Regions from separate parts of the Homo sapiens genome. Here regions 1, 2 and 4 are each linked to region 3. Evidence: promoter capture Hi-C in 16 types of primary human blood cells and fetal thymus (Javierre and others, 2016). All regions are on one chromosome and are shown on one strand. Each heading gives the region's core, a stretch centred on a gene start or on the middle of the fragment in contact. The rest is flanking DNA. Distances are from core to core; before and after follow the strand shown.

Evidence for each region. Contacts are between HindIII fragments. The CHiCAGO score rates a contact against its expected background, and 5 or more counts as called.
Region 1: a fragment that was not itself captured here is called in contact with the fragment with the promoter of CYREN in region 3 in 3 of 17 cell types (total CD8 T cells, naive CD4 T cells and M1 macrophages); the score reaches 8.2 in total CD8 T cells.
Region 2: a contact is called between the fragment with the promoter of AKR1B1 here and the fragment with the promoter of CYREN in region 3, in 4 of 17 cell types (naive CD8 T cells, activated CD4 T cells, total B cells and 1 more). The highest score is 9.4, in naive CD8 T cells.
Region 4: a fragment that was not itself captured here is called in contact with the fragment with the promoter of CYREN in region 3 in 1 of 17 cell types (total CD4 T cells); the score reaches 8.2 in total CD4 T cells.

Annotation. Positions count from the first base shown.
Region 1 is chr7:134,606,500-134,609,826 of GRCh38, forward strand. No RefSeq gene overlaps it. Among named protein-coding and RNA genes, the nearest start is that of BPGM, 39 kb to the right of the region's middle. The HindIII fragment of the contact is 226 bases long and covers 1,680-1,905 here.
Region 2 is chr7:134,456,638-134,460,428 of GRCh38, forward strand. It overlaps AKR1B1 (aldo-keto reductase family 1 member B), which reads right to left and starts at 2,463. Exons shown (of 10, transcript NM_001628.4): 1 at 2,360-2,463. The coding sequence starts at 2,425. RefSeq lists a silencer at 2,073-2,262. The HindIII fragment of the contact is 6,251 bases long and covers 1-3,791 here.
Region 3 is chr7:135,168,338-135,172,154 of GRCh38, forward strand. It overlaps CYREN (cell cycle regulator of NHEJ), which reads right to left and starts at 2,370. Exons shown (of 4, transcript NM_024033.4): 1 at 2,315-2,370; 2 at 449-723. The coding sequence starts at 585. RefSeq lists enhancers at 681-810, 2,891-3,110 and a silencer at 1,901-2,510. The HindIII fragment of the contact is 3,007 bases long and covers 621-3,627 here.
Region 4 is chr7:134,624,366-134,628,078 of GRCh38, forward strand. The region is part of intron 1 of LOC124901750 (a long non-coding RNA gene); the gene reads right to left. Among named protein-coding and RNA genes, the nearest start is that of BPGM, 21 kb to the right of the region's middle. The HindIII fragment of the contact is 4,404 bases long and covers 1-3,713 here.

The DNA.
Region 1 (3,327 bases), core at 543-3,042, 560 kb before region 3:
TCTGCTGCCACCTAGTGGTCTTTAGTCGCTTCGCATGTCTATGGTGTCTAGGCTACGAAGGGGGCAAGTGAAACCAAGAGACGGCTTGAATAGAAGCATTCAAGGGGTCTGGAGTTCACGACGAGGGTAAACAGAAAAAATTATGAGGTACCAGGAAGACAGAAGAATAATAGTTTGTAGTCTAGAAGAATTTCAGAGTTTGAGATCTTGATGATGGAGGAGTACTAGGGAGGATAATACCAAAGAAGTGGCTATGGTTGGGTGTGGCTGAAAAAGACTGAAGAAGATTAAAGTTGAAGGTCAAGGAGTTCAGGGTCAGTTTGTTGCAAGGGCCATTTACATTCTCCACTTAGAGGTGAGTGTCCCTGTGTTAGGGTCCACGTTTCGGTAATACGTATTTTTTATCTTCCACACTTCCCAATACAGTGTCAGCAAAATGTTGGTGGAATTGACTTGAGTGTTGAAGAAAAAAATCACTCACGATGATTGTAGGGGATGGAGTGATGATTATAACTTTGGACTTGCTGATCTATACTTTTAGATGAGAATGGCTTCAAATAGGCGGCTTTCTCAAGCCAGGCAGCTATTTTCACTCTTTCAGTGACTGCCCCAACGTATCTCCACTGGACAAATCTCCTCATTCCTGGTATTTTACAGTTTGTTGTGATTCCTTCTAAGGCAGGAGAATATCCTGGATGTTGCTGTGTGCTCATTGTCTGAAATGAGCACACCACATGTAGCAGTGCCCTTCTTACCTTTCCTGCCATTGATTCTCCATGTGAACTTTCTGTAAGCAAGATGTTCATCCAGGAGTTCTCCAAAGCCTACCTTCTTTTCACTCCTTTCTGAGTTTGTAAAAAATTTTGGGAGTCAGTTACTCTACTTTCCCATACTACTTCAGGAAATTTGGAATTCCTGCACATCTGTTTCCTGGGTAAGTTGGCTCTTGATTGCACTGTTTTCAGTCAGCTGGGTCTTTGGCCAACCCAGAGTATTCCTTTGTTAATTCCCACAAGCTAGAGGATTTCTAGAGATTTTTTTTCATTCCTTATTCTGTGGACTCTTTATTTCTTCTCACCCTAAATCATCTGCTTGCCTCACCCCTGCCCCACTCTGATTTAACTCCCATGTGGCTCATTAGCTCCAAGCCAGTTTGCAGCGACTCCCAGGCTCTCAGCTGCCTGAAGGATTGGCTGCCATAATGGACACTTTGATGACTATTCTGGTTGTCTCTTGATTCTTAGGACATCTTTGTAGGCCAGCCTATCTATAAGATGACTTCCTTCTTTGTCAGCTATAATAATGGATATTGATTTTTTCCTAATTTTTCATTATAGGAATTTTGAACATATAGAAAGTTAGAGGGAATAGTGTATTGAATGTAGTGTACATATCACTCAGCTTTAGTATCATTTACGGACAATATTATTTCATCTGTACTTTTTTACTTCCCTGATTATTTTGAAACAAATCCTAAACATCATATCCTTTTATCTGTCAATGACAGTGCATAGCTTTAAAAAATAAGAACACTTATTGTGTCTCACCTAAAAATTAGCAAAATTTAGCAAACAAATTTCCAAAGTCATTCAGACTAGAATAATAGTGGTTGAGAGTAGCTCTTCTTGTTTAGAAAAATTTTAGTTTCAGCCTGAGCAAAAACCAAAAAATCACAATTAAGCTTTACCACTGCTAAGCCATTAAATTCTTGTTGATAGGGCAATTCAGGATATTCAGCTTCTATTTTTGACAAAAAAATCATAGAACTGCAGATGTTTACACCACAAAAGTGAATAAGGTCCATTTTGGACATGACCTGTTCAATAACATATGATAGAATCAAACATGTTATGCAAAGTACCTACTGATGAATGATTACAGGTTTTAACATCTTACTTTTTCACAAGCTTTTAAATGAGTCCATGTAACCCTTTGTCTGCTTCACACAAATTTTTACCACCGTGTAGCACATCTTAGCAGATTCTACTTCAGATTATACTGAATTAGAAATTTTACCAACTTCTTTGAAAATATTATTCTCACTTGTAGTTATTCCATACAGACTATTCATAGAACCTAATTCTTTAGTTACTTCAAACTTAGCATTGATACCTCAAGTAAAAAACAACAGCTGAGCAGTATCAGTAGCATCTGTCTATTCATCAAGAGACAAGGAAAGATACTCAGAACAATTAACTTTGTTTTTAACTATTGATGTTGCTCCCAATGTCCTCAACTTTTCAATCAACTTTTGTTACCAAAAGACTCACAGTCTTGAACAAGTTTATTTTCTGCGGACACATTTCTTCAGCTAATAAAAACACAGTTTAATTAGCTTACCATTGATAAATGGGTTTCCTTGCTTGCTAACAAATGAACCACTTGGAAACTAAGTTTGGTTGCAGCCTCATTTACATTTGTAATTCTTGTGAAGAAATTCCACTATAATAAGATATTCTATTTTAAATTTCCTAATTGTTCTGCCTGTTGCTTTCCTGTGAATTGGACATATTGTGATGAGTGCTTAGTCTGGCAATGTTGACATATATTCTGTTGTTTTAGCATAGTTATAGTGTCAGTGCATACTAAACACATGCTTTCCGATCTAATTCAATTAAAAAAAAGCCAGATGCCACAGTAACTTAAAAGTGCAACATTTGAAGTTGACTTTTCTTGTTTTGACATGAAAGATATGCACTGATAAAATAAAATAAAAGTAAAACAAGTATGCTTGGCACTTGAAACACTGTCAAGTCAACTCACTAAGCAGCAGTAAGAAGTGATGAAGATTTCACAAATGGTCCCTGTTGCAACTCTTCAACTTTGCTGTTGAAACTCAAATGCAGCCATAGACAATATGGAAATGAAAAGTGTGCTATGCTATAGTAAAACTTCATTTATAATATTCAGCTTTAATTTAAAATAATTTTCATATCATAAAATATTATTGTTCTTTAGATTTTTTTTTCAATTATTAAAAAACGTAAAAACTGGCCGGGCGCGGTGGCTAACGCCTATAATCCCAGAACTTTGTGAGGTCAAGGTGGGCGGATCACTTGGGGTCAGGAGTTCGAGACAAGCCTGGCCAACATAGTGAAATTCTATCTCTACTAAAAATACAAAAATTAGGCCAGGAACAGTGGCTCACGCCTGTAATCCCAGCACTTTGGGAGGCGGAGGTGGGCTGATCACGAGGTCAGGAGATCAAGACCATCCTGGCTAACACGGTGAAACCACGTCTCTACTACTAGCCAGGCGTGGTGACATTGCACCTGTAGTCCCAGCTACTCAGGAGGCTGAGGCAGGAGAATCGCTTGAACCCAGGAG
Region 2 (3,791 bases), core at 1,213-3,712, 710 kb before region 3:
TACAAGTGGGCGTTTTCACCATACAGCTATCTCTAAAGTCGTTTTACTTCTTCATATGAATTCAACACATAACTTTTGGATACCTACTCCTATATTTGCCAGGCACTGTGAGAAGTGCTAGAAATAGTAATGAATGAAGCAGACATTATCCAATTTCTCAATGAACTCTGTCTACTGGAATGCATAACCTAAATGTACAGATGTTATGATGTGATGTTATCTTAAACAAATACATAGCTTTTTGGGGCATTGAGTGCTCAAGTGAATAATCTGAAACCCTCTTTCATAAACTTTTACTCCTCAGCCTGGACAACATAGGGAAACCTGTCTCTACAAAAAATTAAAAACAAACTACCCGAGTGTGGTGGCACACACCTGTGGTCCCAGCTACTTGGGAGGCTGAGGTATGAGGACCACTTGAGCCCAAGAGGTTAAGGCTACAGTGAATCATGATCATGCCACTGCACTCCAGCCTGGGTGACACTGAGCCCCTGTCTCAAAAAAAAAAAAATAAACTTTTACTCCTTATTTACCCTAGAGTAGTGATTTTCAAATGATGGGTCACAAAACTAGCTTCTGGAGGTATGACAATAATTTTTGGAAAAATGGAATAGAAAAAAATATTGAAATGCAGCCTACATAGGTTAAGTACTGTTAAGTAATTTTTATTCCAGTTACATGTATATATCTGTGCGTTGCATCATGCTTAGAAAGTATTTGCTATTGCCAAGAAAGCATCCTTCTGCATCCATTCCAAGAGCATAACATGCAACAGATGGAAATTAGCTTGGTGTCATGGTTGTAATTCAATTACAACCTTAGAGACACCACTGGAGTTTTTGGAGGAAACAAATCACGTACCCTGATCATTCTGGCCAAGAAACACTCTCCCTGATGCAAATGACCTTTTTCTTACCTTATATTTACTAATTTTCAACAGCAGGTTTTAGGGTACATGTAAACTCTTCTGTCCTATTTCAAACATCTCACAGTTCACTCAGTTCTTTCTGTTGTTTTCTTCCCTTGTCTGTGTGTAAATATCCAACGCCCAGGCCCATATTCAAATTTTAAGAGAAAAACCTGGGACGTGGGCCTGCCAGATGGTTCACACCTGTAGCTTTGGGAGGCGAGGTGGGAGGAGCGCTTTGAGCCCAGGAATTGGAGATCACCCTAAGCAACAAGCGGAGACTGTCTCTGCGGGGAAGAAAAAAGATTAGCCAGGTGTGGTGGTGAGCGCCTGTAGTCCCAGCTACCCGCAGTGCTGAGGCAGGAGGATCACTTGAGCCCAGGAGTTCCAGGCTGCAATGAACCATGATTGTGCCACTGCACCCCAGCTTGGGCAACGAGACCCTGTCACAAACAAACAAGCAAACAACAAAAACAGAAACTGAGAAACCCAGGTTATGGCTGTGGAATATAATATGCAATACTTAGAAGGTTAAAAATTCTAGGTTTTGCCTCAGCTCCCATACCACCACCTTTGTTGCTCAATTTTCAGATAATCAGGCTCAGGCTATTATTTTTGGTTTTTCATATCATATTATCATTTTTCATATCCTATGATGTTTCATGTCCTATTGTCATTCTCATCCGGCTAGGCACTTCTCGGGGACGCTGTGTGGTGTTGAGGTTTTACAGGGAAAATGCTAACCTTGGCGCCTCCTGAATTATCAACTAGCTACGGGGTGCCCAGATTTTTCTCCCGAGTTCCAGACCCAGGGCACCCCGAGGCGGCGCCTGGCCGAGGAGCTCCGCACTGCGCCTTGTTAACAGCTGGGTCCGGGCAAACTCGCGCCACCTAATTCTCTGCCCTCTACCGGCTTGAGATGCTTATTCCTCAGGGAGGGCAAGAATCGAAACGATTGAGACCAACTATTTACAAGTGAGGCAACCGGGCTACAGGTGCCTCGAGGGAAAGGAGGCTGGGTCTGCGCTCCCACACCTTGCCGACGGCTCCACGTCCCTGTCTGCGCCCGAGGTCCACCGGTCTGTGAAGCCCACTTTCCCCGCCTCCCTCTCGCGTTGTGCCGCTTGGGGCGCCCGCTAGGACCCAAAATGCGGACTGGTGGGCCGCCCATCAAGGGTTGCCCGCGGTAGGGCGGGGGCTCCCGTGAGCTGCTCCCAAACCCCACTCGCAGGATGCTGCCCTGACGCCCAGGGCCAACCCGGGGAGCCAAGGCCCCCGGTCTCTGCAAGGCCGACCCCAGCCCGCTGGGGACCCTGCAAGCCCGCGCGTGGCTCCCAGCACGCCGGGCGTCCGCGGGGCGAGCTGCTCAGGGTCACTCGGGGTCCCTCGCCAATACAGGCCGCGCGGAGAGTGTGAGGCGAGCCCCGGGCCCGCGCCCCCACGAGCACCTACCTTCCAGGTACCCAACCCCAGGATGGGCATCTTGGCGCCGTTGTTGAGCAGGAGACGGCTTGCCATGGCTGCTGCGCTCCCCAGACCCCCGCCCAGTACGGTGCGGCCTTGGCCGCGGCGCGTACCTTTAAATAGCCCGTGAGGTCGGCAGAAAGGGCGCCTGCGGTTGGCGCGCCGCTGCGCGAAGGAGCCTTCTGATTGGTTGCGCTGGGGGTGCCGCGGCGGCCTTCCCCAAGGGTCGGCGGGGATGCTTCTTCCGCCTGGTCCTAGTGGCAGCGGATTCTTTCCGCCCCCAACGCTCGCCCGCGCCCCGCGTGGCAGAAAGGAGTTCCTCAGCTGCTGTATCTGGTGGGAAAGCGAATGCTTTAGCGAAAATAACAGGCATCCCATAAATACATAGACTAGAAATAAGTTTTGGTTTCATTAAGAGCCCAGAAGAATGCCTTTGTTGTCCAACCCCAGTTTGATGCTCTTTGGGAATCTGACGAATACCTTGTCCTTAATCTATGTGAATCATACTGACTACACATATAGTTTACCGCACTTTGTTCTTAGACAAAGGTGCATGCCAGAAAAATGGCTTGCAATCCTTTTGCAAAGCACCTTCACAAAATATGGGTTTGCCCAGACTTTTTGTAGCCTTCTAGATCTCTCTTTGCACCCCACTCTAGGTGTTAGCTGTGTCTGTGCATACTAGGTGTGGTTCAGCAAGCCTTCCACCAAAAGCCAGCATCCTTTGATGTTCTTGAGGTTAGAAAGCCTTGATGGGCTTGATCCAGAACTCTCAGAAGAATTTGGAAAGTAAGGCTGTCCATTCAGAATCAGTAAGACAAATTTCATCAGTCTTTGGAAAGTGAGACTCTATCAAAGCAGTAAGTTCCAGTACAGTAACTTATCAAAACTCTCTAGAGGAAGAAAAGTGAACAGACAGAAAACCACAGAAGAAAAAGTTGACTCTAATATTGTAGCTTCCAGTATTTCAAATTAGAAGGTACAAAATAGTAAATTGATCACCCTAATTGGCAGGTAGAAACACACATTTTTCCAAGATAGCCTAAGAAAAGTCACTTGAAGATCCTTGAAGACAATTTTGGTTTCTTTCCAACAACCTCTCTTCATGATACTCTACCTCACCCCAACTGCTCTTTCTGCTCCATCACCCTCCGATCTTTCCCCTAATTATGCAAGATTGGGAACTCCATCTGCCTGGTAGTGACTCAAGCACCAGGTCTCTCTAAACTCCATGCCGGTGATTTTCCATTTGGTGCTTTCTTTAAAAGTGCTCCCTCCTGGAAAAATTTATACAGAACAGACTAGCCCAGATATTTTTCCATGTAACTTTTGTAAAAATTGTTGCTATTGGGCAAATTCATTTGTCCCCAAGTAATAGAATTTGAACTTGAGCCTAAAGCTGGGAACTTGCTTTGTGTAA
Region 3 (3,817 bases), core at 1,120-3,619:
ACTCCCCAGCTCCTTAGCTCTTGCTGGCCCTGCAGCTGCTGCTCATCTGTCCATCCCTAAAGGTCTGTCCACAGGGGCAGGCACCACTCAGAACAGACCCTTCCACTGATCTTGCCCATCTGATGTTACCATGTTTGTTGTAAAGGAAGAGACTGGCATTCTGGACAACTGGCATCAGAGACTGGCTGACATGGAGAACCCACTCTGTGTGTGCTGAGGGCAGGGCACTCACCAGTGCAGAGGCAGAAGTGGGTGCCTGTCCTCGAGGGTTAACCCGCTTTGCCTCCCGCCCACAGCCCCTCCACCTTCTAAAAGCTCAAGAGATGATCAGACTGAAACACCCGCCCATCTTGCTGTTCTGCCTAGGCTGGAAGACCTGGCCCAGGTCATGGAGGCCCCTGCTCCACTTGCCAGATTCGCAGGAGTCTTCTGACCAGAGCTGTCGCACCTTGCTGCTGCCACTGGCACTGCTGCCATTCTCATCCTCTTGGGGGCCTTCATTGGTGCCACATTCTTTGTAGCCACCTGGGCTGTCAGCCATGAGGGAAGGACCCTCGTTTTAGTCTCGGATTGTAAGGTTTCCATCTCTGTACCTTCTCACAAAGAAGAGTCAGGGCCCAAGCTTAATGACCTGTTTTTTAATTCAGGAAGGTAAATCTCGTTCTCTCGTCACACCCGGAATTACAGGTCCATTTGTCCTCAGTGGGAGTTGATCTTTGATTCCTACAAAGAACAATAAAGTCCGGTGAATTCCCATACCTCCAGTCATCAGGCACAGTTACTGGTCGGTGCAGGGCAGGCCAGAAGTGACCAAGGCCCAAGAGACTCAGACGGCCATTCACAGGCATCAGGCAGGTGTGATTGTGGGCAGGACAGCAGCTCAGGAGAGAGCCCTCTGACCTCCCCAAAGCTGGTGCCCCCTACAGGCAGCCAAAGCCAACCAGAGATACCTCCTGCAGCCTCTGTGCTGACTGACTCAGCACAGGAGGAACGGAAGGAGGCGGAGGCCCCTAATGTTCCTTCTCATTACCACCCCAAATGCCACTGTCCTCTGGGTGCCCAGCCCATTCAATCCCTAAAATACCTCTTAATGGCCTCTCCCTCATCTGGCCAACTCGATTTCTCTACTCTTCTATGGTGGCTCAGTTAAATGAAACTGAGGGCATTTTATTTCACAATAAAGTCTCATTGGCCAACACGCCGCCCTTAAGCTAAAGATACTTCTGATTGGTCAAACTTGAAGCAGCAATAGGGGCCCGGAGGCATTAACTGTGCCAGTCTGTAGATTCTGAAGCCCACGCCAGCCTCTGATCTAGTTTGGCCTCTCTTTTCCCTATCCCAATTGTTCTGCCTCCACTCAGCAGTCCTGGAGCTCAGTCCTCACCCAGAGAGATGGAGTTGTGACTCAGAGGGCCTAGGTCTCTACCTTCCACTTAGGAATCAAGCCAGAAGCTCCTGAAGCGGAGGTTTGCCCAAAAAAAAGAGTAGTCAGCGATAGTCCTCTCTGAATCATAATTTGATAATGCATTGCTCATCCAGATGGCTGTTTACAATTTAAGAAAAAATATTACCAGGCCCTCCTCCTAACCTGCCCGGCCATGGGGCACACCTTTGCCAATGCACCTTCATTTCTGTCAAAACTCAGTGATATTAGTGACTCCTACCCCCTAAGGCGCCTCCCAAGCGCAATGCTGCAGTCTGTGCGGACAAATTTAGTTCACCCTGGGGTGCCTATTAAGTACATTTCGCAAACGAGGAACTGAGACTTAGTTAACTTGCAGAAGATCACAGAAAAGTTTGAAATCAGCTGGTTGGATTCGCAGCCAGGTCCTGCAGACTCCAGACCCCGCGCCTCCCCGCCCTACTTCTGGGCCCCAAGAGCAGGCCGCGGCAACTTCCAGAAGCCGGGTCTCTGGGGCACCGCGCTCGCGGACCGACCTCAGTCCCATCCCAGCCGCTCCCTGCCTGGGCAGAATGGGGGCCCCGCGGGAACGCGATGTGCTGCCAGTTCACAGCCCGCCCTCCCTCTGCGGGCCGGTACCCGCCGCTGGCGGCGCCGACCTGTGGGAGGCCCAGAGGGCGGGTGAGTGCGGAGCGGAAGGCGCGGGCGAAGCACCGCAGGGGCCTCGCTGACCCCGCCACACGCCGGGCAGGGCTGCAACGGCTCCTTCCGACTGGAGCGGCCGCGCGCTCCTCCGGCCGGCTACTGGCTTCCCTGCTCTCAGGTTCCCGTCTCCGGCTCTCGTGCCCCTTCTTAGCTTCCAGAGCGGAGCCGGGAGGCAAATTCCAAGCGGTTGTGGGACCCACGCCTCACCCGGAACTTTAAGCCCTGCCGTCTCGCCTGGCGCCCAAACTCTGCGGACCTCCACTGGCCGCCCGCCTCTTCCGGCCCCGCGCGCTCCGGGGTCCCGCGGGCTCCCGGCCTCGGGACACTTCCGGTCTTGGGGAACTCCCGGCCCCCTCGCAGTCCCGGCGCCCGGGACACTTCCGGCTCCCGGCAGCTGCCTCAGTCGGAGGTCCGCGGGCGCCCCATGCTGGCAGTGGTAATGCCGCCGGCTGGCATCCGGTTGGCTGCGCGCTGGGAACGCCAGCGAGGCAGCGCCACCGGCTTGAGGAGGGTGAAAGTTCAATTCTTGGCCCCTGAAGTTAGCGGAAGGGAACGGGCATGTTTTGGAAAGGCCCGCCGGGAATTCCCTCAGAAACCAGGCGAAGCTCCCTGCTGGGCCAGGCCCCCCTCGTGTGCTTGAGGAGGATGGGAGCCCGGCCTCGGTTTGTTATCCTAATTAAGTGGAAAATTAAGAAAATAATAGAATAGCGTAAGTACTAATAGTAAAATTATAGTAAGAGAAATAACAATAGCTAGAATGGAATGAATTGCTGTATTAACCAAGGCTAGAAAGAATTTCAGCCCTCCGAAAGTTAAAGCGAGGGAAGAGAGAGACCCTCTCATATTGTTTTATACTCAGTACCTGTTTTTTTTTTTTTTTTTAAAAAAAAAAGGAAGTGAAATCAAAGACAGGCAGCCCAGCGCCAGGCCCAAAACTGGACCTGGGCCTGCCTGGCCTAAACCTAGTAGTTAAAAATCAACTCATGACTTAGAAACCGATGTTATTCATAGATTCCAGACATTCTATAGAAGAACATTGTGAAACTCCCTGCCCTGTTCTGTTTCTCCCTGACCATCGGTGCATGCAGCCCCTGTCACGTACCCCTTGCTTGCTCAAATCAATCACGACCCTTTCATGTGAAATTTTAGTGTTGTGAGCTCTTAAAAGCGACAGAAATTGTGCACTCGGGGAGCTCGGATTTTAAGGCAGTAGCTTGCCAATGCTCCCAGCTGAATAAAGCCCTTTCTTCTACAGCTCCGTGTCTGAGAGGTTTTGTCTGTGGCTTGTCCTGCTACAGTCCTTGGTTCCCTGACCAGGAAGCGAGGTGACTGACAAGCCCTGTGGAGCGTCCCTGCAGAGGACTCCGGCCAGCCTGACTGACGCAATCCAAAGAGCGCTCCCGGGTAGGAAATGGCCCCGGTGGAATGCCTTGCCAGAGCAGCGCATAGCAGGCTCCCGAGAAGGATTAACACTGGCTGAACACCGGGAAGGAACTGGCACTTGAAGTCCAGACATCTGAAGCTTGTCAAGACTAGTTTTTGGAACTTGCCCCACTCCATGTGAGTGGAAGCATGGCCTGATCACCCACGGTGTGCCTGTATTGACATCTTTGTTCTGGTTTTGACTTGGCTTGACTTGGTAAGACTAGTCTTTGGAACTTGCCCCACTCCACGTGAGTGGAAGCGTGGCCTGATCACCCACGGTGTGCC
Region 4 (3,713 bases), core at 347-2,846, 540 kb before region 3:
ATTGGATGCCTATCGGTGATTAGAATGAATGATTGGGGGTTCCAGTTAATTAACTACCTGAATTTGTCTTCCTATATATAATTTTCCAGGAAGAAAATAATATAACAAAAAGGAAATGGTTACAAAGTAACAAACATTTTATTTCCCAGTCTAATCTTTTTCAACCTATATTTATACCCAGAGGACTGCGTGGTATGTTCAGCATCATGTATCTTGGCTTCTGTCAAGATGAATATTTTGTATTGATCAACGCTTTACACTTTACAAAGCCCTTTCAAATACTTATTTCCTTTGACTTCTAAGTCTTACTGCACCATTGTGTAGATGGAAAAATTGAGTCTGAAGTGGTGATTTCCCCAATGTTATTCTACTTCATGCCCACTAGAATAGCTAAAATCTAAGACTGACAGTATCAAGTATTGGTAAGGATGCAGAACAATTAAAACTCACATATATTGCTGATGGAAGTATAAAATGATATAACCACTTTGACAAAAAGTTTGGCAGTTTCTTATAAAGTTAAACACATCTTCTGATTCAGCAATTGCAGTTGTAGGTAAGTATCCAAGGTAAGTGAAAATACATGTTCACAAAAAGACTTGTAGAAGAATGTTCATAGCAGCTCTATTCACTGTAGTCAAAAATTGAAAACGACCCAAATGTCCATCAACAACAGGATGGGTAAACAAGTTGTAGTATATTAGCACTTAGCATTAAAAAGAATGAATTACTGTACTGATACATCCAATAACATGAATAAAACATAATGCTGAGGAAAGAAGCTGCATACAACAGAGTATATATTGTATGTTTCCACTTATATGAAGTTCTAGAACAGGTAAAGCTAATCTAAGGTGAAAAAATTCAGTAGTGCCTTTGAGGGTTTGGGGCATTGCTCCCAAGGGAGGACTTTTTTTCTTACGAGATGGAAATATGGTGAGGGTATAGACACACAGCTCAAATTGTTCAATTAATACTTGTGCATCTCAATGTATGTATATTTTACCTTAAAAACTGTAAAAACAATAACAATCAGATGGAGGAGTTTGGAGTGGAGGTTTAGATAAAAGAAGCGAGGCAGAACATTGATACTACAAGTTGAGTGATGAGTGATGTCCTTTATATTCTTCTGTTTATGTATGCTTGAAATTTTCCACAAAAAAAAGTTTTAAAAAAGACAATAAGGAAAAATGATCAAAAGGCTTTCAGGGAACTGGAAATAGTTCAGTATGGCTGGAGCAGAGAGTGTGTTTTCCACTCTTTCATTTCATAGGAATCTTCCCAGACAGTGGTGAACTGAAAACACCGAATCTCTTAGTCACATCTGATTCTACAGCAAGGATGGTTACAATGACTAGCTAACACAAACGAATAATTGTGGTGGAAAAAACAGATGTTTGTATCTCAAGTGTAAACATAACTTACCAAATATTATTACTTGAAGTACTTGGCAACAATTGGAAAAAGAATTTAAATATGAGCCATGTAGCTACCATGGGATATGGACATGTTTAATGGTACAGGCTCAGACCAGTATAATCCCCTTCCATAACTTGGTAACGCTCCTGACATTGCAATAAGTAAACTAAACCACACCCAGTCAGCAACTAATTAAAAAACAATAAATGTCTTATAAATAAAAAAATTATGTATCTGAAAATATGTGGGAAATATGCTCAATAAATCATCTGATTCATCACTTCTTATTTTAATACAGATTATTGCAAAGCTGTGGGTATTTCAATAATAAATCTACATTAAGTTTTCTTCACCTGAATGCAGTGCATTCTTGTTTGTGTATGTGTATGTGTGTGAAGTTGGGGCTCTGTGTAGACTTAGAGTGAATTACAGATTTCTATTTTAGGAAGAGAACTTAAAAGTTCCCTTTAATTTTACAAATGAGGGAACTAAAACCAAGAGAAACGAAGTGACTTGTCCAAGGTAAAAAGGTGTAAGACCACAGATCAGATCTGATTTCTTCAAATTGAAGTAGACTGTTTACAATGTGTATGAATCTAAAATGCTTTCCATGAGCTGCATCCATATTGAATAACTCAAGAAAAGTTTGTCTTGGCAATTCACAGAACACTATTCAAATACAGAATTGTTTAAAAGGCTTCTAGTGCACTAGTGGAAATATTCTTCTGCCCCATGGAGATTATAATACTGAAGCAGACAGATATCTTCAAAAGGTTGTGGAAAACAGCCAATTTACCATTTGTCTATGCTTGCTTATAGAGCATTAGAGAGGATATTGAACTACCAAAACCCTTTCCTCTATTTTCTCTTCTTGCCTAGCTCTTTACTTGGGTGCCACCACATGCTCTTTATACCACTGTGTTTCAAGCTATGGGTTACAATCCACTTATGAGTTATACAATCAACTTAATGGCCACAATCAGCATTTTTGAAATTAAATTTATTAGATTAGAAAATATCAGTGGACAACACTCATAAGGTTAGGGCAAGTTATTTCATGAAATTCCTGTTTCAGTCATAAATATATGTGTGTACACTGTGTGGAAATGTAAAACATTTTTTTACTGTGGATCAGTCAAGAGTACTTGAGAGCAGATGGCTTTTGTAGGTCCTCAGAGGGACTTGGACATGCTTTAACTCTGATTACCCCTTCCTCAACTTGTGTGTTCATGGTGTGCACGATTTTATTCTTATTTTTAAGTCGACACAAATGAGATGTTATTATAATCATTTATTCTCATAATATACAATGTACAATGTCTGTATTTACCTACATGTTTGCTAATTTCTTTGCATCTGTGAAATTTTTTAATGTGGTAACTTTCATAAAACACAACATTCACCATTTAATCATTTAACCCCAACTCAGTGGCATTCAGTACAGTGATGTGCAACCATCATCGCTATCTATTTCTAGAACATTTTTATCAGCCACAAAGGAAACTCCCTATTCACTAAGCAATCACTTTCCATTCCTCCCTCCCCTACAGCATCTGGAAATCAGTAACCTGCTATCTATCTCTATGGATTCTGGATATTCCACATAAATGAAATCATACAATATGCGGCATTTTGTGTCTGGCTTCTTTAAATTAGCATGTTTTTGAGATTCATTCAAGTTGTAGCATGTATCAGTTATTCATTCCTTTTTGTGGCTGAATATTTCATTGTATGAATATACATTGTATGAATATACCATCTATCCATTGATAGACATTTAGGCTGCTTCCACCTTTTGGCTACAGTGAGCAGTGCTGTTATGAACATTTGTGTACAAATACTTATTTGAATATCTGCTTTCAGTTCTTTAGGGGTATATACCTAGGAGCAGGATTACTGGTTCATAAGGCAATACTATGTTTAATTTTTTGAAGAATCACCAAACTGTTACAATCTATTAGTAGGTTATGAAATCAAACTCTTTCCCACAGTGGCTGTACCATTTTAAATGCCCACCAGTAGTGTACAAAGACTCCAATTTCTCCACGTCCTTTCCAACACATTATTTTTCATTTTAGAAAGATGATAGCCATTCTAGTGGGTATGAGGTGGTATCTCATTATGGTTTCAATTTGCATTTCCCTAGTCACTAACAATGCTAAACATTTTTTCATGTGCCTGTTGGCCATTTGTACATCTTCTTTGGATAAATGTCCATACAAGTCCTTTGCCCATTTTTAAATGAGATGTTTGTCTTTTGTTGTTGAGCTGTAAAAGTTCTTTATATATTCTGG